Regions from separate parts of the Homo sapiens genome. Here regions 2, 3, 4, 5, 6 and 7 are each linked to region 1. Evidence: promoter capture Hi-C in 16 types of primary human blood cells and fetal thymus (Javierre and others, 2016). All regions are on one chromosome and are shown on one strand. Each heading gives the region's core, a stretch centred on a gene start or on the middle of the fragment in contact. The rest is flanking DNA. Distances are from core to core; before and after follow the strand shown. Region 1 holds the start of RBM47 (RNA binding motif protein 47). Region 2 overlaps APBB2 (amyloid beta precursor protein binding family B member 2). Region 3 overlaps APBB2 (amyloid beta precursor protein binding family B member 2). Region 4 overlaps NSUN7 (NOP2/Sun RNA methyltransferase family member 7). Region 5 overlaps RBM47 (RNA binding motif protein 47). Region 6 overlaps RBM47 (RNA binding motif protein 47). Region 7 overlaps NSUN7 (NOP2/Sun RNA methyltransferase family member 7).

Region 1 (3,146 bases), core at 408-2,907:
TAAGTAACTATCCCAGGGTAAGACACCAGGTCAAGTGCCAAAATACAAATGAGAATTAAGCATAGCAGATGGGTGATTGCTGGGCCCTGAATTTCCTTCCCGTTAGTGAGCTTCATGGAATGCAGGCAAATTTATCTCCATTTCTGTTGTCAATCTTGTAACTTTTAAGTGAGATGAAATTCAGTTGGCTACCCTTTACAGGGACTTTATTTCCCATTGTATTCAAGACTGTCAGCAATGAATATAAACTGTTTGTAAAAATCCCATCGTTAGAATCTTCCAGAAACTGAGGCTGGGAGAGATTAAATATCTTGCTCATGGCCTCACAGCTGGTGAGTGGCAATGCTGGTGCTACAGCCCATGTCTAACTCTGACCACACACTCTTCTTCAGAAAAAAGCCATAATGTAAATAATAATAAGAAGAATAACAACAACAATAACGGCAGCTAACACTGTGTGCTAGGCACCGTTCTAAGCTCTTTGCATGTGTTAACTCAACCAGCAAAGAACCATTTTTGGAACATTCTTTCACTAAAGTAGCCCGGTATTTTTTTCTTTCCCCTCAGCTGAATGACACTGCAACCCGAAATCACAACTCTGTTTTAGGTTCCTGGTGGTGCCTGCTTCCTCTTCTAGTTTGTTTAGTCACAGAATTCGATTCCTGTTGGCCCATTCCGCGCCTACAAACAGGCTTAGCGCTCCACTGAAATGCGGGAGGCTCCTTAACTCTTGTATAAACAGGTAAGGCGGAGGGGGTGGGGCGCGGATTGCGGACATCTGGGTTTCTTGGGAATTGGGATGGGGTGGGGGTTCGAGCCAACTCCCCAGAGAGCAGGCAAGGTGAAGCGAGGGCTTGGCTGCTGTTTCTAAATGCAGTGTTTTTTTGTTCCCTTTCTAGAAACCCTCCGTAACTCTAGGTCAGAGCGCACTAAAATGAGCCACTTCTGAACGAGCAGCGCCCAGGCCCCAGGCCCTGCTGCGAAGGCCCCGGCAAAGGTCAGGGCCCCGTCCGCGTGACGCTCCTGCCTGCGCGCGGCCAAGCCATGCTCGGCCCCAGGTAAGGACGCCCCGGGAGCTCGCCCCGGGAGCTCTCCCCGGGCACGCGGGGGTCGCAGAGATCCCACCTCGTCCAGCGACTTGTTTATGGGGGGAAGAAGGGGAGCGGGGCGGTTCCGATCGGCTTGAAATTCAGCAGCAGGTTCCTAATTTCTCCAACGTGGTTCTGGCTGGGTTTCTCGGAGCAGCCCGAAGGGGGCCGAGCGTCTGACTCGGACAGATGCCCCCAGGTGGAGCAGGTGCCACTTCTGGGTGTCTGAAAGGCATGTGACTTTTGGGGCGGGGAGAGAAGTCCGTCTGGTCAAGTCCCCCAATCTCTGCCATCAAGGCCGATTTTCTTTGAACCTTCAGCAAAGGTATCTGCGCTCCTAAAAAACAACAGGAATGTGGCACTGGCCTTTAGCCAGGGGAGGCTCAGCCAGCAGGATAAAATTTCAGGGCAGATTTACGGGAAGTTGCCGGTGTTGGGAGTAAAAATCTGGTTTGGTGAGTTTAAGGGAAGGGAGTAGACGAGAGACAACCTTGCTACTGTGAGGCGGATGGCCTCGGCAGGGGGCGGGCGGCGGGAGGAGAGAGGGAGGGAACCGGGAAGGGCCCGCAGACTAGACGCTGAGCGCTCCCGTGCGCAGCGCCCCACGCAGCCGGGACGCGGCGCCGCTCTGCGGGTGGAACCGCCGCGCGCTCCCGGCCTCGGGAGCTGAGCCCGAGAGAACTTCGCTGCCTTCGGGTCGCCGCTCCCGCTTTCCACTGTGGAATGTGCAGCTTGGGATAGAGAGAAACCAGGGTTTGGGGAGCGGTCCTCCTGGAGACTTTCTCTCTGCAAGTCTCCAAGGTTAAGCAATTCTGACCCACTGGAATTCCCAGAGCCTGGGAGTTAAGCCTAAAACGCTCTGTTGCTTTAAGCGGCGCGGTGGGGAGTCGCTGGACACTCCTTATTTTGGTTTTACATTAAAAAGAAGGCGGACGAGAAGATGTTGTAGGTGACTTCCTAGCTGTGTTAAGTTGCTCCTGGGCTGTGAATGGTGTTAATTTCTGAAGTGGGCGGCTCCAAAAACTTAACAAGGAAAGGTAAGGTGGTTTTTGGTAGTCCTTCTAACTATTGTCCCTTAATCTTACATTTGGGTCCCAATTTTTGAAGTGTATATTTTTTTCTTATTCTTCTCTCTTTAGCTCTTATCCCTCATGCTATCACTCATCTTCTGTCTCTTGGTATATTTAGTGGGAAATAAAGGGTTTATAAAACGGTTTTAAAAGGGTCAACCTCTGGGAAGGCAGATAATCATATACAGTCAGTCCCATCGTGTTTCCTGTAGTGATGAATCTTTTCCCATAAAAGAAACTGATTTTTTTTTTTCACTCTTGAAAATACATGATTGGACCGCCCAGAAGCACAGGTGACTTTAGACTCAGATTATTACAGTGAGACTGAGGAAGCGTCCTGGACAGGAGGCATCTCATTTAAGTGTTAACCAAGGCAGAGGGGGGTCTTCCTGCAGTAATTTACGTCTGAAAGTAACACTCGGTAGAGGTGTAGTTGTTTCAAATTAAAAATTCAGCCTGTAGAAAAGGGTAGGACTGACGAATTATGACATCTGACAAATTAGCAGTTGACCGGATATTTAAGAAATCAGATAAAATAAATGGAAGTGGAATTTTTCAAATAAATGACTCATTTTTTAATTAGGTAAAAGTTCAGCCACTCTTGGGTACTGTCCCAAGGCATAAGTGATAGGAAGATACCATCTTCAAGGTACTTACAGGCCATTACCGACCTGAACTAAAAATCAAACCTTTTTTTTTTATCTGGTGGTATTTTAATGACTCACTGTTTTCTTTAGCAGGAATATAGATTTTAAAATGTATTCTTTAAAAGTTTTAAGGCAAGGTCATACGAATTTCTCAGGGGAGGGAAAGCAAAGGGTTGACAACCCAACATGAAGGAGTTGCCGAAGTTTTGAGCTCAAAAGGTTGGCAATTAGATCCAGAGCATTTGAGAATTGCAGGTGCCGATTCTAAAAGGTGAAAGGTGGTCAGCGGCGTAACACACAACCTCTAGATAAACCAAAGTACTCAACCTAGAGCATAAGAA
Region 2 (3,146 bases), core at 430-2,929, 220 kb before region 1:
TTTCTTCTTTTTTTTTTTTTTTTTTTGGAGATGGACTTTCGCTCTTATCGCCCAGGCTGGAGTGCAGTGGCGTAATCTTGGCTTACTGCAACCTGTGTCTCCCAGATTCAAGCGATTCTCCTGCCTCAGCCTCCCGAGTAGCTGGGATTACAGGCGCCCGCCACCACACATGGCTAATTTTTTTGTATTTTTAGTAGAGACAGGGTTTCGCCATGTTGGCCAGGCTGGTCTTAAACTCCTGGCATTAGCTTATCTGTCCATCTCGGCCTCCCAAAGTGCTGGGATTACAGGCGTGAGCCACCGCGCCAGGCCTAGGAAATGAATTTCATTCTGTACCACTGGCTGAGCAAAGCTTTACATCTGTCCAGGCTCCCGAGTGTTAAGAGATGACTTAACTGTGTCCCTATTTACTCTCCATATACGTTTCATGGGTTTTTGGGAGTAAACTGATGGCATATAACCTCTTATCTAGGTTTTCACAAATCTCTAGGATCACAGAAAAACATACTAAGTAGTAGTGTAACTTGTCTTTTTAAAGAGCTTGTGTTGAACACAGAATATGACATATTTGAGGAGTTCTTAGACTTTTGGATTCCTCGGGCCCTAACATAGTACCTAGTATAGGATGCCCTCCATAAATAACCCAGTTGATGAATGGGCAGATGAATGAATGTAGATGAAAATACTTCATTGTCTACTTTTAGGGTTTAATTTTGACCATCCATGTGCTTAATATTTATAGTCTAATGGTTAATATGCTGTTCGGCAGATAAGGAGCATCCATGTGTCAGGCACCTTGTGAGGCAGCATGAAGGACTGAGACAGATGAGGTCCCTGTTTGAAGAGGCAGGAGATAAGCCGGAAAAACAATTCAGGAAGCAAGATGATACAGGTTATGCCGAGTGTCTTGAAGACCATCAACAGCGTGATGCAACAGAGTAGCTCAGAGGGGAAAGGGGCCATCAGGAGGCAGCCTGTCCTAGGAGGCAACATTTGAGCTGGGCTTGAAGGCTGAGAAGAAGCCAGCCATGTAGGGAGTGAATAGAAAGCACTGAGGAACAGCTGGGTGTGGTGGCTCATATCTGTAATCCCAGCACTTTGGGAGGTCGAGGCAGGTGGATCACCTGAGGTTAGGAGTTCAAAACCAGCCTGACCAACATGGTGAAACCCTGTCTCTACTAAAAATACAAAAAAAAAAAATTAGCCAGACATGGTGGTGCGTGCCTGTAATCCCAGCTGCTCGTGAGGCTGAGGCAGGAGAATCACTTGAACCCAGGAGGCGGAGGTTGCAGTGAGCCGAGATCATGCCATTGCACTCCAGCCTGGACAACGAGCGAAACTCCATCGCAAAAAAAAAAAGAAGGAAAGCACTGAGGAAGTGGAGCACTCAACGTGCCTGAGGATGAAGAGGAGGCCAGTGGTTTGTGCTGGAAGAGGTGGGTGGGGACAGGATCCTTTAGGGCTTGTGGGCAGTGCTTAAAGGTTTGCCATGAGGTGCCCGTGAAGAGGGTTAACCAGGGGAATGCCATGATCTAGTTTATTTCATACAGAAAGATCTCAGGGAATAGATATTGGGAACAGGAGTGGAAAACGAGGGACCAGTTGGCTAGCCCTAGTCCAGGAGAGATCAGTGACATGGCAGAGGGCATGAAGAGAAGCAGGTGGGTGGGGGAAATGTGGAGGTTGAACTCGCCAAGTTGACTGTAGAAGATGCAGGAAGGGGTGTGATCTAGGACCATACCTGATTTCTTTGATGCGTTGTTTATGTCTGTAGAAAATACATGCTAATAGAAGTAATAACTGTTCGAGGACAAAGTTATTAAGCCATGGAACAACTCCCTTTACATTTATGTTGTATCAAGACCTTGATTTAAGCCAGACACGGTGGCTCATGCTGTAATCCCAGCACTTTGGGAGGCCGAGTGTCCCCAAAGGATCACTTGAGGCTAGGAGTTTAAGACCAGCCTGGGCAACGTGGCAAAACCTTGTCTCTGCTGAAAATACAAAAATTACCTGGGCATGGTGGCACATGCCTGTAATTCCAGCTACTAGGGAGGCTGAGGCACGAGAATCTCTTGAACCTGGGAGATGGAGGTTGCAGTGAGCTGAGATCGCGCCACTGCCCTCCAGCCTGGGTGACAGAGAAACACACTGTCTCAGAAAAAAAAAAAAGACTTTGACTTTCTTTTCTTTGGTTCTCCAGTGTAGATGAGCAGACGTATCCATCCAGTGCAATCTTGTGTATTTGGCCATTTTTCCAAGATGTTTTCACCCTTCAGTACCCTTTCTGTCATTCTCAACTGGTTATGAGACCTTTGAGCATTTTTCTTTGTTCTGGCATGAAAATAAAGAATCAGACTAAGAAGAGAAGATGGGTTTAAGCCTTAATTTATATGGAATTATTCTACCTTTGTTCCCAGTTTATAAGAATCCATTCATAATTACTTTTTTTTTTTTTTTTTTTTGAAGACAGAGTTTTGCTCTGTCACCCAGGCTGGAGTGCAGTGTCACGATCTCGGCCCCCTGCAGCCTTCGCCTCCCGGGTTCAAGCGATTCTCCTGCCTCAGCCTCCCAAATAGATGGGATTACAGGCATGCACCACCATGCCCCACTAATTTTTTGTATTTTTAGTAGAGACGGGGTTTCACTATGTTCGCCAGGCTGGTTTTGAGCTCCCGACCTCAAGTGATCCACCGGCCTTAGTGCTGGGATTACAGGCATGAGCCACTGCGCCCGGCCCCGTAATTACATTTGAAGTTACTTCACATGCAGCATCCTCTGTAGTTCCAACAATTGATACTCTCTCATAAATATAAAATTTGTTCCATATGTATTTCAATTCAAAGAGGGTAACTTTCTTAGTAACTTTGCAGGAAATTCACTGAGCATTTTGAGAGCTAGAGAAGCCATTTCCTTATAGCTGTAAAGTAGAACTAAATACTGAGTTTCTGATAGGATTCTCTGCCCCCTTCTTCCAGCTGCAGAATTGTGAACTTGAAAGCTTAACAACATGTTTGTCAGAGAACTTGAGTTTTGAGATAACTTTGGTTTGGTTTTGAAAAAAAAAAAAAAAAAAAATATATATATATATATATATATGCATAGAAAATATTCCTTCTGCAGTCAGTATTTTCAGCAGATGGGAA
Region 3 (3,146 bases), core at 365-2,864, 210 kb before region 1:
AGAGTAATTACTGAGGAAGACAGCCAAAAAGACAGGAATGAAAAGAGTTGGAAACACCAGGGCTCAGTAAGCAGGTGGCAACAGGTACTTGATTCCTGGTACTAGCTTCTGTCACCATTTAAAGAAGAGACACAAGAAACTATAGCTATAACCCTTCCACTTCCTGGCTTATAAAAGAAAACGCAATGATTCTCATGACTGCAGGCGTTAAATGGAGTGAGACTCCATGTATGGGCAGCAGATGGCTCCTGGCCTAGCCTTGTAAATGGCTAGGGTATGGCATGAGCTGGAGCAGAGAGCAGAAACGGGTCTTGCTGCCAAGTGTCAGACAGATCGTGTCTGATGATCACAGGTGGTAGAATTTCAGATAACCACAGGTTCCTGGGAATCTAGAAGCTGTTGGAAAAACTGGGAGTGATGTTCTTTCTGGCCCTTGGAGATCTTTTGGGCCAGCTGTGTGGTTTTACAGACGAGATGCTGAAGCCTGGACCCTGCGTGGCTGTGTGAGGCGCCCGGTTAATGAGTATGGCTCCCAGCCTGTCTGAGATGGGACCCTCCTGGTGCTCTGGAAGCCGGAAGTGCTAACGGAAGGATAGCCCTCAAGGGCTCCCAACCTGAAGGCTCCTCAAAGGTGCCTGCAGTGGACCAGCCAGCCCCCGTGTCCCATGCAGCAACAGAGCTGGCTACGGGCCCTGCCTGCTTGGCTGCCTGACGCCTGATGGCCATGTGGCACCCGACACACTCTTTCCTCCCCAGCCCACATGCTCGGCCTGAGCTGATCGCACCAGTTTAGGTTTGCACAGTCTGTCAGGAACACTCTGAGTGTGGAGGTGTGTTTACTACAAAGCAATTTCTTCTCCCCCTCAGAATACAAGAAAATCAAGGACCTACCCTGTTGCTCTTACGTATGACCACAGTGGCCTTTAGCATCATGACACTGGGATTGGGGAAAAACCCAGCTGTGTAAAAAACTAATGGGTGACATTTTGATCACTGTGGAAGCCAGCTGATGGGATATAGAGTTTGTTTACTATCTTCTCAATTTTTATGTGTGTTTGGAAAGTTCCAGAAGGAGAAGAGTAAAAAACAGAAAGGAGAGAGATGGATGAACTCTGTTCTTTTAACTCCTGTACTCCTCAGGCTGGGCCCCAAACTCCTTCTCCCAGGTAAGGGTCCAGGAGGCCAAGGTCACTGCAGACCTCCCTGTGGCTGAGACCACCTGGCCTGTCTCCCACTGTTCTGGAAAGCTCTCTACCCCTTTCCCTCAACCCCCTTTCTTTGATATCTTTGGGACCAGCCTCTCCTGGGCTTCTCCTGCCCTCTTCCCCAGCAATTTTTTTCCCACCTTCTCATTGGACCTCCTGCCTCAAACAAGGCCTCTAAATGTCTTTCTTCCCCAGTCGCCAGGCCTTGGTTTGACATGTTTTTTGTTTGTTTGTTTGTTTGTTTGTTTTTGAGATGGAGTCTTGCTGTGTTTGCCTAGGCAGGAGTGCAGTGGTGGAATCTCAGCCTACTGCAACCTCCATCTCCTGAGTTCAAGTGATTCTCACACCTCAGCCTCCCAAGTAGCTGGGATTACAGGTGCACACTACCGCACCCGCCTAATTTTTGTATTTTTAGTAGAGATGGTGTTTTGCCATGTTGGCTAGGCTGGTCTTGAACTCCTGACCTGAAGAGATCCACCCGCCTTGGCCTCCCAAAATGCTGGGATTACAGGCATGAGCCACCGCGCCCGGCCAGCTTTGTCTTTTCATGCTCCACACTCTCACCTGCTCCCCCGACTTCACCCACCTCCCAGATCCATGTCTCCTGCCCAGACCGCAGGCCTCAGTGCAGGGTCCCAGCACCCACCTGCTTGGTGGGCCTCGTCACCTGGTGCTCCTCAAGCACAAGCACCCCACACGTCTTGTCCACCCTGGAGCTCATCAACTTCTTGCACCAAACCAGCCCTCCTTCCCTCCCCCACTCCAGTGATGGGGTGCTTAGCTGTCCTAGCAGGGACCCCAGAGTTATTCTTAATCGCCTCCCTCATCCACGTCTCTCACACATCTGCCACTCCTGCCAGCTATCCTTCCAACACCTCTTCCATCTGTCTCCTCTGCCCTGTTCTCGCAGATGCTGATTTAGCCTGCACTTTGCTCATCCCCCTGCGCTGGACCACCGCAGTGGCCCCCAGCAGTCCCCTTCCCTTGGCCGGCTTTCTCCCACCAAACAAATCACATGGGGTCACCTGTAATATTGCAAGACTGGGATGGCTCGGAGTAAGGGCCAGTCCTGGCAAGACACAAGGCACTGTGCAAACTGAGTACAGACTCCCGCACAGCACCCCTGCAGCGGCACCTGAGCCTCACCACAGTGCCTGGGGCATATGCATAGGGCAGCTGGGAGTTCTCGCAAACAACTGGGGGGCCTTCTGACCTCCCTGCCTTTGCTCATACCTGTTTCAATGTTCTTTGAGCTGTCTGCTGCCTTCTTACTGTGATGAGGTCCTTCTTACACTTAAAGAAGCAGCTCAAACCTCATTGCCCGTCTGTAACATTAGACGGGCTTGCAAGGCTGGAACCTTATCTGTTTGAATTTGCCTCACTGGTTCCTGATACATAATATCAGCTAGAAGGTGCTTGTAGAAGTGAATTGAATTTTTTTTTTTTTTTTTTTAGACGGAATCTTGCTCTCTCACCCAGGCTGGAGTGCAGTGGCGCGATCTCGGCTCACTGCAACCTCCACCTCCCGGGTTCAAGCGATTCTCCTGCCTCAGCCTCCTGAGTAGCTGGGACTACAGGCGCCCGCCACCACGCCCGGCTAAGTTTTTGTATTTTTAGTAGAGACGGGGTTTCACGTGTTAGCCAGGATGGTCTCGATCTCCTGACCTCATGATCTGCCACCTTGGCCTCCCAAAGTGCTGGGATTACAGGCATGAGCCACCGCGCCCGGACTTTAATGAATTGAATATTTTAAAAAATATCAGTCTTTAATACCACACCATAAAATCCAAACGGCAGTTGCATTCATTTCCTATTGTTGCTGTAACAAATGGCCACAAACCGAGTGGCCTAACGCCACGCCACTTGATTCTTTTCTGTTTCTGGTGGTCAGAAATGTCAAATCCCAGTGTTGGCTGGGCTGTGTTTCTTCCAGGGGCTCTC
Region 4 (3,146 bases), core at 419-2,918, 180 kb before region 1:
AAATCCCAGATTCTCCATCTTTAACCAACTATGCCAAGAATAACAAATGTTTAACAAACTAAAAACTGACCTTCCCAAAGTCACTAATATGGCAGTAAAAGCTTTCCATTATCAAAGCAGGTAAATATGTACATTAATCACAGTTATCCAAAATGTCCTATATTTCTACCATTTTCAAAATACAAAGGAGAAAACGTTTTCTTTTGGTTACTTTTTGCACAATTACAATATAAAAATATAGCCTATCACTTTAATTACATTATTCTTCCCAGTCACTTTTTGAGGATTAATAGATGAGTTACATAGTGTTCAAGAAAGTACATAACAAAGACTTTGTGTCAGAAAAATCTCAAATCATGAATAGATTTAAAATGAAAATTTCAGTTTTTATGTTTAATATGAATTTATCATTTCTTAGTAAGTGGTTCATCATGAATAATAAATGATTCTATTTCCAGGCTTATATTATTAAAATATATTTAATAATAAGTTAAAGCAATTAAACACTATTCCACATGAGTTAAACTATCAGGAAATCTTTTATTAATCATTGTGTCCTGGCCAGGTGCCGTGGCTTACGCCTGTAATCCCAGCACTTTGGGAGGCCGAGGCAGGCAAATCACTTGAGGCCAGGAGTTCGAGACCAGCCTGGCCAACATGGTGAAACCCCGTCTCTGCTAAAAATGCAAAAATTAGCCGGGTGTGGTGGCAGACTCCTGTAATCCCAGCTACTCGGGAGGCTGAGGCAAGAGAATTGCTTGAACCTGAGAGGTTCAAGCCAAGATTGCACCATTGCACTCCGGCCTGGGCAACAAAAGTGAAATTCTGGCTCAAAAAAACAAAAATTAGCCAGGTGTGGTGGCAGGTGCCTTTAATCTCAGCTGCTTGGGAGTCTGAGGCAGGAGAATCACTTGAACCCAGGAGGTGGTGGTTGCAATTAGCTGAGATCACACCACTGTACTCCATCCTGGGTGACAGAGCAAGACTCCATCTCAATAATAATAATAATAATAGTGTCCATGTGACACAGCTACAAGCCAAAGAACAGCAAGGACAGCCAGCAACCACCACAAGCTGGGAGAGCGCAGGGGACAGGCCTCTCCAGCACAGGCCCCAGGAGGAATCCAACCGGCCAGCACCTTGCCAATGCCTTGGTTTAGGACTCCCAGCCTCCGGAACTATGAGAGAATAAATGTTTGTTATCATAAGCCACCAAGTTTGGAGGAATTTCTTTCAGCAGCCCAGGAAACTAACACACATGACAAAGGGGATTTTGCAGATGTAGGATAGGTCCCACGTTAGTTACCCCGAAGATAGGGATATTATCTGGGTGGATCTGACCTAATCACATGACCTTTGAAATCAGGGTCTAGAGGTCAGACATGGAAGAAGTCAGAGATTCAAAACACAAGATGCTATGACAGCTACTGCAGGTGCACAGATTGGGGAACTCGGGACAAGGAATAAAGTGGCCTCTAGGAGTGGAAAGCAGTCAAGTGACAGCAGCAAGGAGACGAGGACCTCAGTCCCGCAAACACAAGCGTGGGTTTGGAAGTAAACTGTTCCCAGAGCCTCCAGAGACTTCAGCCTAGCTCATATCCTGAGCAGAGAACCTGGCTGTGCCATGCCAGATATATCTGACTTATGTGACCTAAGTAATAGATGTTTTTAGCCACTAAGTTTGAGGTAATTTCTTAAAAAGAAAACAAACACACAATGGCTCACACTTGGTGAGGAAGCAATGCCAGGCTGCAGATGGCAAGCAGTAGAAGAAGGAACAAGAGGACAGAGAAGTGAGCTCGCTGCCGTGGATAACACTATTAAGGCTGGAAAACCCACCAGAAGGCTATGTTGAGAGGAGGGTCCCAAAAGTACACCCACTATCAAGCAGCAAGGAATGGCCTGGTGAGAGGGGCACCACAGCACTGAGAGGTTTGGTGGTGGTTTTCCTCTGCAGGCCAGGGCTGACAGTAGGGGATGCAGTGACACAACTGGGCTCATTGACAGCAATGAAAATAATAGGATCCTGAAACAAGAGAGACCAGGTGAGCAAATTAACCACCAGAAGCCAGGCATGTGCAGATACTGATGACCATAATGAGTACTAAGACCAGAGAAGCATGTACTCTGGTGCGTGCACACTAAGACCTCTCATGCACTGCTCACCTTCGTGCCCTCCACTCTTACTAGGTAACAGAAAATCAAAACACAGAACACAACCTAGACCTCAAGCTCAAAGACTGTTCACTATTAGAAAATGTAATTTTCTAATAGAAAATTGGAAAATGTAATTACTAAATGTAATTCACTACCATGTTAAAATGTCAGATGAGAAATAATATCTGATCATATCATTAAATGCTGCAAAGGCTTTTCATAAAACTAGGCATCCATTAGTGATTTTTTTTTTTTTTTGAGATGGAGTCTTGCTCTGTCACCCAGGCTGGAGTGCAATGGCGTGATCTCGGCTCACTGCAACCTCCGCCTCCTAGTTCAAGCGATTCTCCTGCCTCAGCCTCCCAAGTAGCTGGGATTACAGGCGCCTGACACCACGCCTGGCTAATTTTTTTATTTTTAGTAGAGACGGGGTTTTGCCACATTGGCCAGGCTGGTCTCGAACTCCTGACCTTAGGTGATCCGCCCACCTCAGCCTCCCAAAGTGCTGGGATTACAGGCGTGAGCCACCATGCCCGGCCCCATTAGTGATTTTGAAAACCTCTTATTGTGCTGTTGGCTTAAGTATAGACATATAAATCAACGGATAGAATGAGAATAGAATGAGAGTCCAGAAATAAGCCCATGCATCTATGATTAGTGGGTTTTCTATTTTCTTTCTTTTTGTTTTAGACAGGCTTTTGCTCTGTCTCCCAATCACAGCTCACTACAGCCTTGACCTCCTGAGTAGCTAGGACTACAGGTAGGCACCACCACACCTGGCTGATTTTTTGTGGAGATGGGGTCTCTCTATGTTGCCCAGGCTGGGATTAACTAACTGATTTTCAACAAGGGTGCCAAGACCATTCAATAGGGGAGAATAATCTTTTCCACAAGTGTTGCTGGGAGAACTGGATGACCACACGCAAAGAAGGAATTTGGACTCCTAACTCTTATCATATACAAAAGTTAATGGTGATTGTTGTACAACT
Region 5 (3,146 bases), core at 359-2,858, 160 kb after region 1:
TGCTGTTGAGCATTATCTTTGTGGCAGTTTTAACACCTCCCTTCTTTCTGTACCACCCACTCAAGCTCATTCCAGGTGCCCTTAGCAAATGACTCCCAAGGCATTAAGTGGCCAAAGCTCATTTCGTTGACCAATGAGGAGCCCTGTGCCATGTATAACAGAGTTACACAGCTCCTGGTATTGGGAGCGAAGGTTGCTTAAGCAAAGCTTTCATTACAGTTAGCCTGTCGCACCCAGATCAAGATTGGAAAGGTAGGGGAAACCTTATTTGTTTTAAATGAAGAGAAGAAGAGGTAACTGTGTTTGGTTAAAGCAATTTAGATCAGACCAGATAAACAAATGATCCATATTGTTTGTTTTTTAATTGAAGACCCCCCCAAAAAAATTTGGAAGTTGGTAAGAATTTCAACTGCTGCACAGTCTGCCTTACCAGCAGTAAAACCAAAATTCTTAAGTTAAAAACATTTTCTAAAAAATGAGTTTTTCTAACAGCTTTTCACTTTATATGCTTGAAAAATCTAGATCTTCACAGTATTGTTGTTGTTTTATAGTTTCCTGTTATTTAAACTATGGGGTAAGAAGCAGGAATTTATCAGCAGTGTTGCCCATATTTGATTTTTAAAGCCATTTCAGAGTCAGTGTTTAGAGAAGGAAATTATAATTTTAAGATGTGATAATTAAAATAAGGAAAAATTAATGGAATTAGCTTTATGATAATTAGCATATAAAGGTTGACAATGATGACATTTCCTCTCAGAGTAAAGTTCTTGTATAAGAAGACTTTTATCATTGTTTTCAAACCAATAGTTAAATTTATGAAATGGAATTATTTAGGTGTAGATTATATGCTTTAAAGTATTAACATTAGTTTCACTTTCATTATAAATAATTGTTTAGTTATATTTTATATGCTATTCAAAATTTGTTTTAATATTAACTCAAATGACCAGAGAAGTAGAATCTTTAGTCATTTCTGTCTGGCAGTGGAGCAATTTGAATAGCATTTGAAGTAGAAGCTAATCTTTTAAAGAAAAATACTCTTCTCTCTTAACCCTTCTCCCTTCTCATTATGATGAATCAATGTTGCAACAAAATGTATATGTGAGAAATGCATATTCTTATACTTTTTATTAGCCTACATCTGATATTTAGTGTCAAAAGATAAGTTTGGGTTCAAAGAAAAGTGTAACTGGTTTTCCCTGATTGCTTTTTGCCAAAGGTGGCTTAATATGGGTTTGTATTTTATAACAGAGATTAGGTAATATGTTTATTTTAAAATGTGACAAATGAGAGATGGCACCATTTGATTAAAAATGTATTTAAATATTTCATTTTGAACTCTACTTTGGTCTAATTTGTAAAGGAAATTTTTTAATGTACATATCACAAAGTATTAAATATCCAAGAATTTCAGTTATTGCAGATTCCATTTTCTTATTTTGACATATTCATTTAAAAAGACTTGCATCCTGAAATTGTATACTTGTATTAGATTTGTTCCAAATGCCTTTTTGTAAGACGTCTGCCATTCTCAAGATCATCGTTATTTGTGTCTTTTACTCTGGATGACTCTGTGGGGGAGGTGGGTGTGGGGGGCGACCAACAGTCACAGTGTTAACTATTCACGATGGAGAACGCTTGCTAGCCACCTTGTCCTGTATAAGTCAGTGCTGCTTCTCGGTTCCAAGCTAAGGTTCAAAGGTTTAGACTAACTTCACAGATCAGAGGTCAGGTACGAATTGCTGCAATTTGTAGTTCAATTCTGCCGATATGACAGAATTTCACAGCTATGATGATTGCTTTTTTCCACTTCTGCACAGAGGCCAGGCTGGGCAGTTAACAGCGTAATTTGTACAAGTCAGCCCTCAGCACCCAAGTTTAATGAGTAACTAACTGGTGCCTTAGGTTTCACTGGTACAAGGTGCATATTATAAAAAGGGTCAAATGTCAGTGCACAAAGACGGAGTGGGGAGGGGCATGATAATCTCATCACCACCATCTGTGAATCATATGTAAAGATTCAGTAATTTGTGTTTATTTGTAAAATTATATTTCCACTGTAAGAATGTTAGTATGTTCATTTTCTTTGCTATTTGAAAGAGGTGGATAATTTTGTTAGGTGTTAGCAGGAAACAACTGTCTGATTAGAGATTATTAACTAAGCAGTAGAAAGTGAAATTGCAGTTTTGTTTACTCATTTTGTGGGGTCTCTGAGTCCTCAAAAACTTTCTAAAGTGTGATAGTTTTTTAAGAAGCTAGGAAACAAGTCAGAACACCAGATATTTCTGAGCCCATGATATTTATGCCTATCTGATATTCTCTATTCGTCACCCAAAAAGTTGAACTCCTATCTATATTTCTAACCTAGGTTGAGAATATCATTTACTGTTTAAAGCTGAATATTGGGGTTCTTGAAAAAATTCCTACCTGGTAGGCCTTAACAATTCATGAATTTGCCATTCAGGTTTAACTCCTCATGTTGACTCTGAAGCTGTAATATATAATGCATATAGAATCATTTGTCATTTTTGTTATAGCACAGATTTCAGTTTTCTACTCTTCCAGATTGGAGTGCAGCAGCAATTGGATTCTTCCATAGAAGGCCTGGGGTTTGAACCCCAGCTTCTTCACTTCCAGCTAAGGGACCTTAACAAATGGGCAGCCTCATTATACCTCAGTTCTGGCATCTCCAGAATGAGTAGCATCATAGATCTTGCTTCATGAGGTTGTAGCAATGATTAAATAAGACGATGTATGTGGAATGCTTAGTGCCATACCTGGTGCATGATAAACATTCAATGAATGTTGATGGTCATTACTATTATTAATATTATTATGTTACTTAGGTTGTGAGTTCACCTAGCCTACCACATATACCATCTCAATTTGGTTTAGACTTGGTCTTGGCTGTGTTCATTTCATGAGGGACATCGTTGGATGTGGCATAGGATAAGGTGATTTGGGAATGTTTCAGGATGCATTTCTTTTGAATGTCATGGGGAAGCTTATAAAATTCCTCCATTTCAAGTCTAGCACTCTTTTAGATGCTATCTTTTTTCTTTAGCTGATTTGCTGTCACATGGCAAAAACTATAAAAGGGGATAAATCCAAATTATCTGGTTTCCTTTGAGAGCTCCTTTATTCTG
Region 6 (3,146 bases), core at 1-2,500, 140 kb after region 1:
TTGTAGGAGTTCTTTATATATTCTAGATACAAGGCTATTATCAAATATACATCTGCAAATATTTTCTCTCATTTTGTAAGTTGTCTTTCCTTTCTTAATGGTGTCCTTTGAGAAATAAAGCTTCCCATTTTGACAAAGGACAATTTCATTATTTTTTCTTTTATTGCTGTGTTTATCATATTTGAAAGGTATCATATCTAAAAGGCTGCTGCCTACCTGAGCTAAGGTCATGAAGATTTATACCCATGTTTTCTTCCAAGAGTTTTACAGTTTTAGCTCTTATGAGGTGGTTGATCTATAATGATTTAATTTTTGTATATGATATGAATTAGGGGTCCAACTCTATTCTTTTGCATTGTGCGTATCCAGTTATTAAAGCATAATTTCTTCAAAAGACTATTCCCATCAAATAGTCTTGGCACCCTTGTCCGGAATCGATTGACCACAGATACATGTTTTGGGTTTTTTCCCTGAACTCTCATTTCGAATCTATTGTCCTATGGCCATCCTTATGCCAGTACCACGCTGCCCACCCTCCCCGCACCTTATGGTTTTCCCCTAAGATTTCTGCACCCTATACACTGTCTCGTTTACTGTAGCTTTGTAGTAAATTTTGAAACCTGGAAGGGTGAGTCCTTGAGCTTTGTTCTTCTTTTTCAAGTTTGTTTTGGCTATTCTGGGCCCCTTGAATTTCTGTAGGAATTTTAGTATCCATTTATCAATTTTTTTTCCCAGAAACTAGCTGAGATTTTGATGGGAATATTGTGTTGACTCTGTAGATCAGATCGAGGAGTATTGTCATTTTAGCAGCGTTCAGTCTTCTATTCATGAACAAGCAGTGTCTTTCCATTTATTTAGATTTTTTTTCTCTCTTTTTTTTTTGAGACAGAGTCTCACTTGTCAGGCTGGAGTGCAGTGGCGCGATCTCTCCTCACTGCAACCTCCGCCTCCCGGGTTCAAGTGATTCTTATGTCTCGGCCAGGCGCCACCACGCCCGGCTAATTTTTGTATTTTTAATAGATGGCCTAGATCTTTGATTTCTTTGAACAATGTTTTGTAGTTTTAACACTTGTATTATTTTTGATGCTATTGTAGATGAAATTGCTTTGTTAATTTTATATTTTAGTTTGTTCATTGCTAGTAGATAGAAATTTATAATTGATTTTTCTATATTGCTTTTATGTCCTGCAACCTTGTTGAACTTGATTATTAGTTCTAATAATTTTTTAATGGATTCCTTAGGTTTTTTACATGTAATTGACTACGTCATCTATGAACAGAGTTTTATTTCTTCCTTTCCCATATGGATCCCCTTTCTTTCTTTTTTTTTCTTTTTCCTTTTTTTCTATTTATCCTGGCTAGAAACAAGTACAATGTTGCATATAGAAGTTGAGAGAGTGCAAATCCTTGTTGCTGTTCTTCATGGGGAGAGCATTCAGTCTTTTTCACATTAAGTGTATTAGTCATGGGTTTTTTGTAGATGTTATTTATCAGATTGAAGAAGTTCCCTTCTGCTTTAATATGTTGTGTTTTAGTTATGAAGGGTTGGTGCATTGTATCAAATGCTTTTCTGGCAGCTATTCAGATTACTGTGTATAGTTTTTGTCTTTTGTTGATATGGTGTATTGCACTGATTGATTTTCATCTGTTAAGCTATCTTGCATTTCTGGGTTAAATCAGACTTGGTCATGTTGCTGAATTCAGTTTATTAGTATTTAGTTGTGTATTTTTAAAAAGTCCATATGCATAAGACATATTGATTTGTCATTTTCTGATAACTTTGTCTGTATTTTCTATGCATGTAATACTGGCCTCAGTGGGAAGTGTTCTAGTCCCTTCTGTTTTTTGGAAGAATTTGTGAAGGATTGGTGGTAATTAGACTTTAAAACATTTGATAGAATCCTCCAGAGAAGTCATCTGTTCTTGGGCTTTTCTTTGTGGAAAATTTTTATGTTACAAATTCAGTGTATTTACTTATAAGTCTATTCAGATATTCTATTTCTTCTTGAGTCTATTTTGGCCCTTTGCATCTTTCTAGGAATTTCTCCTCTACATGTAGGTTATCTAATTTGCTGGCATATAATTGTTCATAGTATTTCTTTGCTATCCTTTTTATTTCTAGAAGGTCAGTAGTGTTGTCACTTCTCTTATCCCTGAGTTTAGTAAGTTGAGTCTTTTCATTTCTTTGTCATTCTAGCTAGTGGTTTGTCAATGTTGTTGCTCTTTTCAAAGAACCAACTTTTGGTTTTATTAACTTTTATTTTGTTTTTATAGTCCGTATTTGCTTTATTCCCACCTAAATCATTATTATTTCCTTCCTTAATCTGTTTCAGATTTATTTTGCCCTTCTTTTTTCTGGCTTCTTAAACTGAAAGCTTAGATTGTTTACTGTATTTTAACTGTTATCTCCATTCCCCCAAGCTCCATTTTACAGGACAGTTTGTGAGTATGAGTGACCAATGCTGAAACAGTCAGGGCATGCAAACTTTCTCCTTTGGGGACAGAGTTACAGGGCAACTGAATACATGAGGGGGGCATACAGAGTACAGTTGACACAGCTGTTTCATTATGGTGCAGTCCATATAGCATTGTGATTCTGGGGCAAAAACTTGGGCTCTGGGGTTTGGGAACCTGGATATGAGTTCTACATCTGCCACCTAATAGTTGTGAGACTTTGAACACTTATTTAATCTTTGTAAGCCTCAGTCTCCACATCTGCAAAATAGCAGAAAGATAATTAGTACCTCATAGGATTGTCGTGAGGATTAAATGAAATAGCATATGTGAAGCACCCAGAACTGGTGGTAACAACTGTTCAATAAAGATTAACTATTCTAATCTGGTTGTTGTTGTTAGGTCAGATGGGCCTTTGCTGAGTCAACTCCATGTAAAGTAGCTACAGAGCTTGTTGTTGTGTTTCCATTAGTTTGTACCTCTTTGCCAACCATCTATGAACTCTCCTGTATGTACTACCAGGGTGGACCTCACCTGCATTTGCTACCAGGTGCTGAGATACACTTCTCACTTGCGGTTGCAAAGCTCAGGATGTTATTTCCAAATGAGCTCTTTTCTCAGACCAATTGCCGGCCTTGCTTATTTGATCATCCACCCATATTACAATGATGATATGAGAACAAATGAAGGTA
Region 7 (3,146 bases), core at 225-2,724, 140 kb before region 1:
TCAGTTTATTATTTTTTATTTTTTGAGGCAGAGTCTTGCTCTGTCACCAGGCTGGAGTGCAGTGGTGCAATCTCGGCTTACTGCAACCTCCGCCTCCTGGGTTCAAGAGATTCTCCTGCCTCAGCCTCCCAAGTAGCTGGGACTACAGGTGCACACCACCACACCTGGCTAATTTTTGTATTTTTAGTAGAGATGGGGTTTCACTATGTTGGCCAAGATGGTCTCGATCTCTTGACCTCACGATCCGCCCACCTTGGCCTCCCAAAGTGCTGGGATTACAGGTGTGAGCCACCGTGCCCAGCCACCTCAGTTTATTTTTAAATGAAATTGATATTACTCTTTTTTGGCTTTTTACTACTTCTTTTGGCTTTTTGTAATATACATTTACATTTTTTAAATTTTCAGAAATATTTATGTAGTTTTTGACTCAAGTTTTTGAATGGCATTACTAATGTCTAACATATCAGAACTGTGGTTCTCTTTAAATATAAATTGAATAAAGTCATCTGCTGCATAATGACATTTAGGTCAATGATGAACTCTGTTTATGATGGTGGTCCCATAAAAGTTTACTACGGTAGTACCTTTGCTATATTTAAATAGGTTTAGATACACAAATACTTGCCATAGTGTTATAATTGCCTACAGTATTCAGTACATAACATGCTGTGCAGGTTTGTAGCCTAGGAGCACTAGGTTATACCATATAGGATAGGTGTGCAGTAGGTTATACCATCTAGATTTGTGTAAGTATGTTCTACGATGTTCCCATCAGAAGAAATCACCTAACGACACATTTCTCAGAATGTATCCCCATCATTAAGTGACACTTGATTGCAATTTCTTTTTTTTTTTTTTTTTTTGAGATGGAGTTTCCCTCTTGTTATCTAGGCTGCAGTGCAGTGGCATGATCTTGGCTCACTGCAACCTCCGCCTCCCGGGTTCAAGTGATTCTCCTGCCTCATCCTCCCAAGTAGGTAGGATTACAGGCATGCACCACCACGCCTGACTAATTTTGTATTTTTAGTAGAGATGGGGCTTCTCCATGTTGGTCCAGGCTGGTCTCGAACTCCCGACCTCAGGAGATCCACCCGCCTCGGCCTCCCAAAGTGCTGGGATTACAGGCGTGAGCCACCACGCCTGACCTTGATTGCATTTTCTTAATGCCAAAAGATAATCTTCAATGAACTGCTTGAATTTCCCAGAAAAATGTAAAATCAGTCATCTGCTTCAGACTCTTTACTAGGTAAGTGAAACAGGTGAAGAGTTTCTGAAGAAGGAGCGGAGAGAATGTGAGAGATAAAACCCATGAACAAGTATTTAAAGGGCATTTTGGCAATTAGAAATTCTGGAGCATTATGGGGAATGAGAGAAACTGGGGAAGATAAGAAAAAGAATATATCTGAGCAAATGTGCCTTATCCCAAAAATGCATGGCTGGTTTAACATTCATAAACCAGTCAATGTAAATCACCTGGCCACTTAATACAATAAAGAAGAAAAACAATCACTTCAGTCTTCTAAAACTGTTCTCTGTTTTCTTAACTCAGCAAGACTGCTGTTTTCTACTTTCTGCATTGCAGTTTGAGAATTCTTCCAGGCATAAAGCCAGGACTATTCTAGGGCTCACCTCATTTGTTTTGTTCTTTCAGGGATCAGGTTTCTGTGCTGCTTCTTGTCTAATGTCCAAAACCTTTACGTCCTATGATATATTTTGGCCAGTTTTCTAGTTGTTTACAGTAGAAGGGGAAGACTGATCCAAGATATTCTATCATGACCATACAATTACATTTTGAAAATATCACTCTACCTGCCATGTGGAATAGATTGCAGGAAAGTGAGAGTTATAGGCCAGGGAAATGTATCTAAGGAAGCTATCATGGTAGTCCAAGTGATAGATTATGGTGGCATAGATTTGGATGGTAGTAGTGGAAATGGAAAGAAGCACACAGGCTCAGTGTATGTTTTTGAATTGGAGTTACAGGACTTGATGCATTAGACACAGATTGAGTGCAGGGGAGGGGAGGAAAGAAGAATCAAGGATGATGTCTAGGTAGATGGTGATGCCTTAGCTGTGAAGTGGAAGACATCAGAATAAATGGTTTTGGGGTGGTTTGGAAGAAGAACTGACTAAGTCTTTCCCCTCCTTTCTCTACTTTTTCACTGCTTATTTTCCAATTGCTGCCTCACAACAGTCCAACAAATAATTTAATAGAAATAGATTATTGGGCTGGTGGAAAGGCATGGGGAGTGAGAAACAAGGGGTTGTGGTCTCTCTTTTTTTAACCTGGTCACACAGTATTAAAAAGACAGTTACATTTTATACAAAGAATGGGTTCTTAAAGACCTTTCATATGTAAAAAAAATGATAATAGGTATCATCTTGGATTACATGTCTAAACCCACGAATAAGTGAAGAAAAAGATACATGTTGGTGCTTAGGGGTATAAGAGTGAAAAAACACAAGGATTCCCAGGAGGAACAACAACAAAGGTCAAACCACTTTTACAAGGAGGAAATCATTCTCATTCAGCTTCTTGCTAATTACTTCTTCTTCTATAACCTCTTAGAGTTAGTCTTTATCTGGCCGAGCACGGCAGCTCACACTTGTAATCCCAGCATTCTAGGAGGCCGAGGCGGGAGGATCACCTGCGGTCAGGAGTTTGAGACCAGCCTGGCCAACATGCTGAAACCCCATCTCTACAAAAACACAGGCATAATGGCGCACACCTGTAATCCCAGCTACTTGGGAGGCTGAGGCAGGAGAACTGCTTGAGCTCAGGAGGTGGAGGTTGCAGTGAGCCGAGATTGTGCCATTGCACTCCAGCATGGGCGACAGAGCAAGAGTCCGTCTCAAAAAAAAAAAAAAAGAAAAAAAAAGAATTAGTCTTTATCCTCTAAGTAGATATATGCTAAGGTATACTTTGAGCTTACAGTGACTGAACTTCCTTGGGAACTACAGTCTCAAGCCCTAGAAGGCAGATAGAGTTGGCTTCCTGCTGTCTTTCTGTGGTTTAGAATACCACTTCATTGGCTACAGGGAATTGGCTCGAGAGACTGCACCTGACCTGCACTGAGGCAATCGAATTTCCTCTCACAGGAATTTAGAAATGGGAGGTAAGATAATAAGTTAGTCTCAGTGAAGAA

The links. The method cuts DNA at HindIII sites, captures the fragments that hold promoters and counts their contacts. A CHiCAGO score of 5 or more calls a contact.
Region 2: a contact is called between a fragment that was not itself captured here and the fragment with the promoter of RBM47 in region 1, in 1 of 17 cell types (neutrophils). The highest score is 8.4, in neutrophils.
Region 3: a fragment that was not itself captured here is called in contact with the fragment with the promoter of RBM47 in region 1 in 1 of 17 cell types (neutrophils); the score reaches 10.1 in neutrophils.
Region 4: a contact is called between a fragment that was not itself captured here and the fragment with the promoter of RBM47 in region 1, in 1 of 17 cell types (neutrophils). The highest score is 8.6, in neutrophils.
Region 5: a fragment that was not itself captured here is called in contact with the fragment with the promoter of RBM47 in region 1 in 2 of 17 cell types (neutrophils and monocytes); the score reaches 10.0 in neutrophils.
Region 6: a contact is called between a fragment that was not itself captured here and the fragment with the promoter of RBM47 in region 1, in 3 of 17 cell types (neutrophils, monocytes and M0 macrophages). The highest score is 13.0, in neutrophils.
Region 7: a contact is called between a fragment that was not itself captured here and the fragment with the promoter of RBM47 in region 1, in 1 of 17 cell types (neutrophils). The highest score is 5.2, in neutrophils.

Annotation. Positions count from the first base shown.
Region 1 is chr4:40,628,375-40,631,520 of GRCh38, reverse strand. RBM47 (RNA binding motif protein 47) reads left to right here and starts at 1,657. Exons shown (of 7, transcript NM_001098634.2): 1 at 1,657-2,125. RefSeq lists enhancers at 1,794-1,863, 1,046-1,923, 1,924-2,800. The HindIII fragment of the contact is 8,976 bases long and covers 1-3,146 here.
Region 2 is chr4:40,851,671-40,854,816 of GRCh38, reverse strand. The region is part of intron 12 of APBB2 (amyloid beta precursor protein binding family B member 2); the gene reads left to right. Among named protein-coding and RNA genes, the nearest start is that of NSUN7, 100 kb to the right of the region's middle. The HindIII fragment of the contact is 2,649 bases long and covers 355-3,003 here.
Region 3 is chr4:40,834,787-40,837,932 of GRCh38, reverse strand. The region is part of intron 12 of APBB2 (amyloid beta precursor protein binding family B member 2); the gene reads left to right. Among named protein-coding and RNA genes, the nearest start is that of NSUN7, 86 kb to the right of the region's middle. RefSeq lists an enhancer at 1,592-2,161. The HindIII fragment of the contact is 8,515 bases long and covers 1-3,146 here.
Region 4 is chr4:40,803,708-40,806,853 of GRCh38, reverse strand. The region is part of intron 10 of NSUN7 (NOP2/Sun RNA methyltransferase family member 7); the gene reads right to left. Among named protein-coding and RNA genes, the nearest start is that of NSUN7, 55 kb to the right of the region's middle. RefSeq lists an enhancer at 2,014-2,133. The HindIII fragment of the contact is 3,130 bases long and covers 104-3,146 here.
Region 5 is chr4:40,472,799-40,475,944 of GRCh38, reverse strand. The region is part of intron 2 of RBM47 (RNA binding motif protein 47); the gene reads left to right. Among named protein-coding and RNA genes, the nearest start is that of MIR4802, 28 kb to the left of the region's middle. The HindIII fragment of the contact is 2,797 bases long and covers 210-3,006 here.
Region 6 is chr4:40,488,482-40,491,627 of GRCh38, reverse strand. The region is part of intron 2 of RBM47 (RNA binding motif protein 47); the gene reads left to right. Among named protein-coding and RNA genes, the nearest start is that of MIR4802, 12 kb to the left of the region's middle. The HindIII fragment of the contact is 2,255 bases long and covers 123-2,377 here.
Region 7 is chr4:40,767,928-40,771,073 of GRCh38, reverse strand. All of the region lies in intron 4 of NSUN7 (NOP2/Sun RNA methyltransferase family member 7), which reads right to left. Among named protein-coding and RNA genes, the nearest start is that of NSUN7, 20 kb to the right of the region's middle. The HindIII fragment of the contact is 3,396 bases long and covers 1-3,146 here.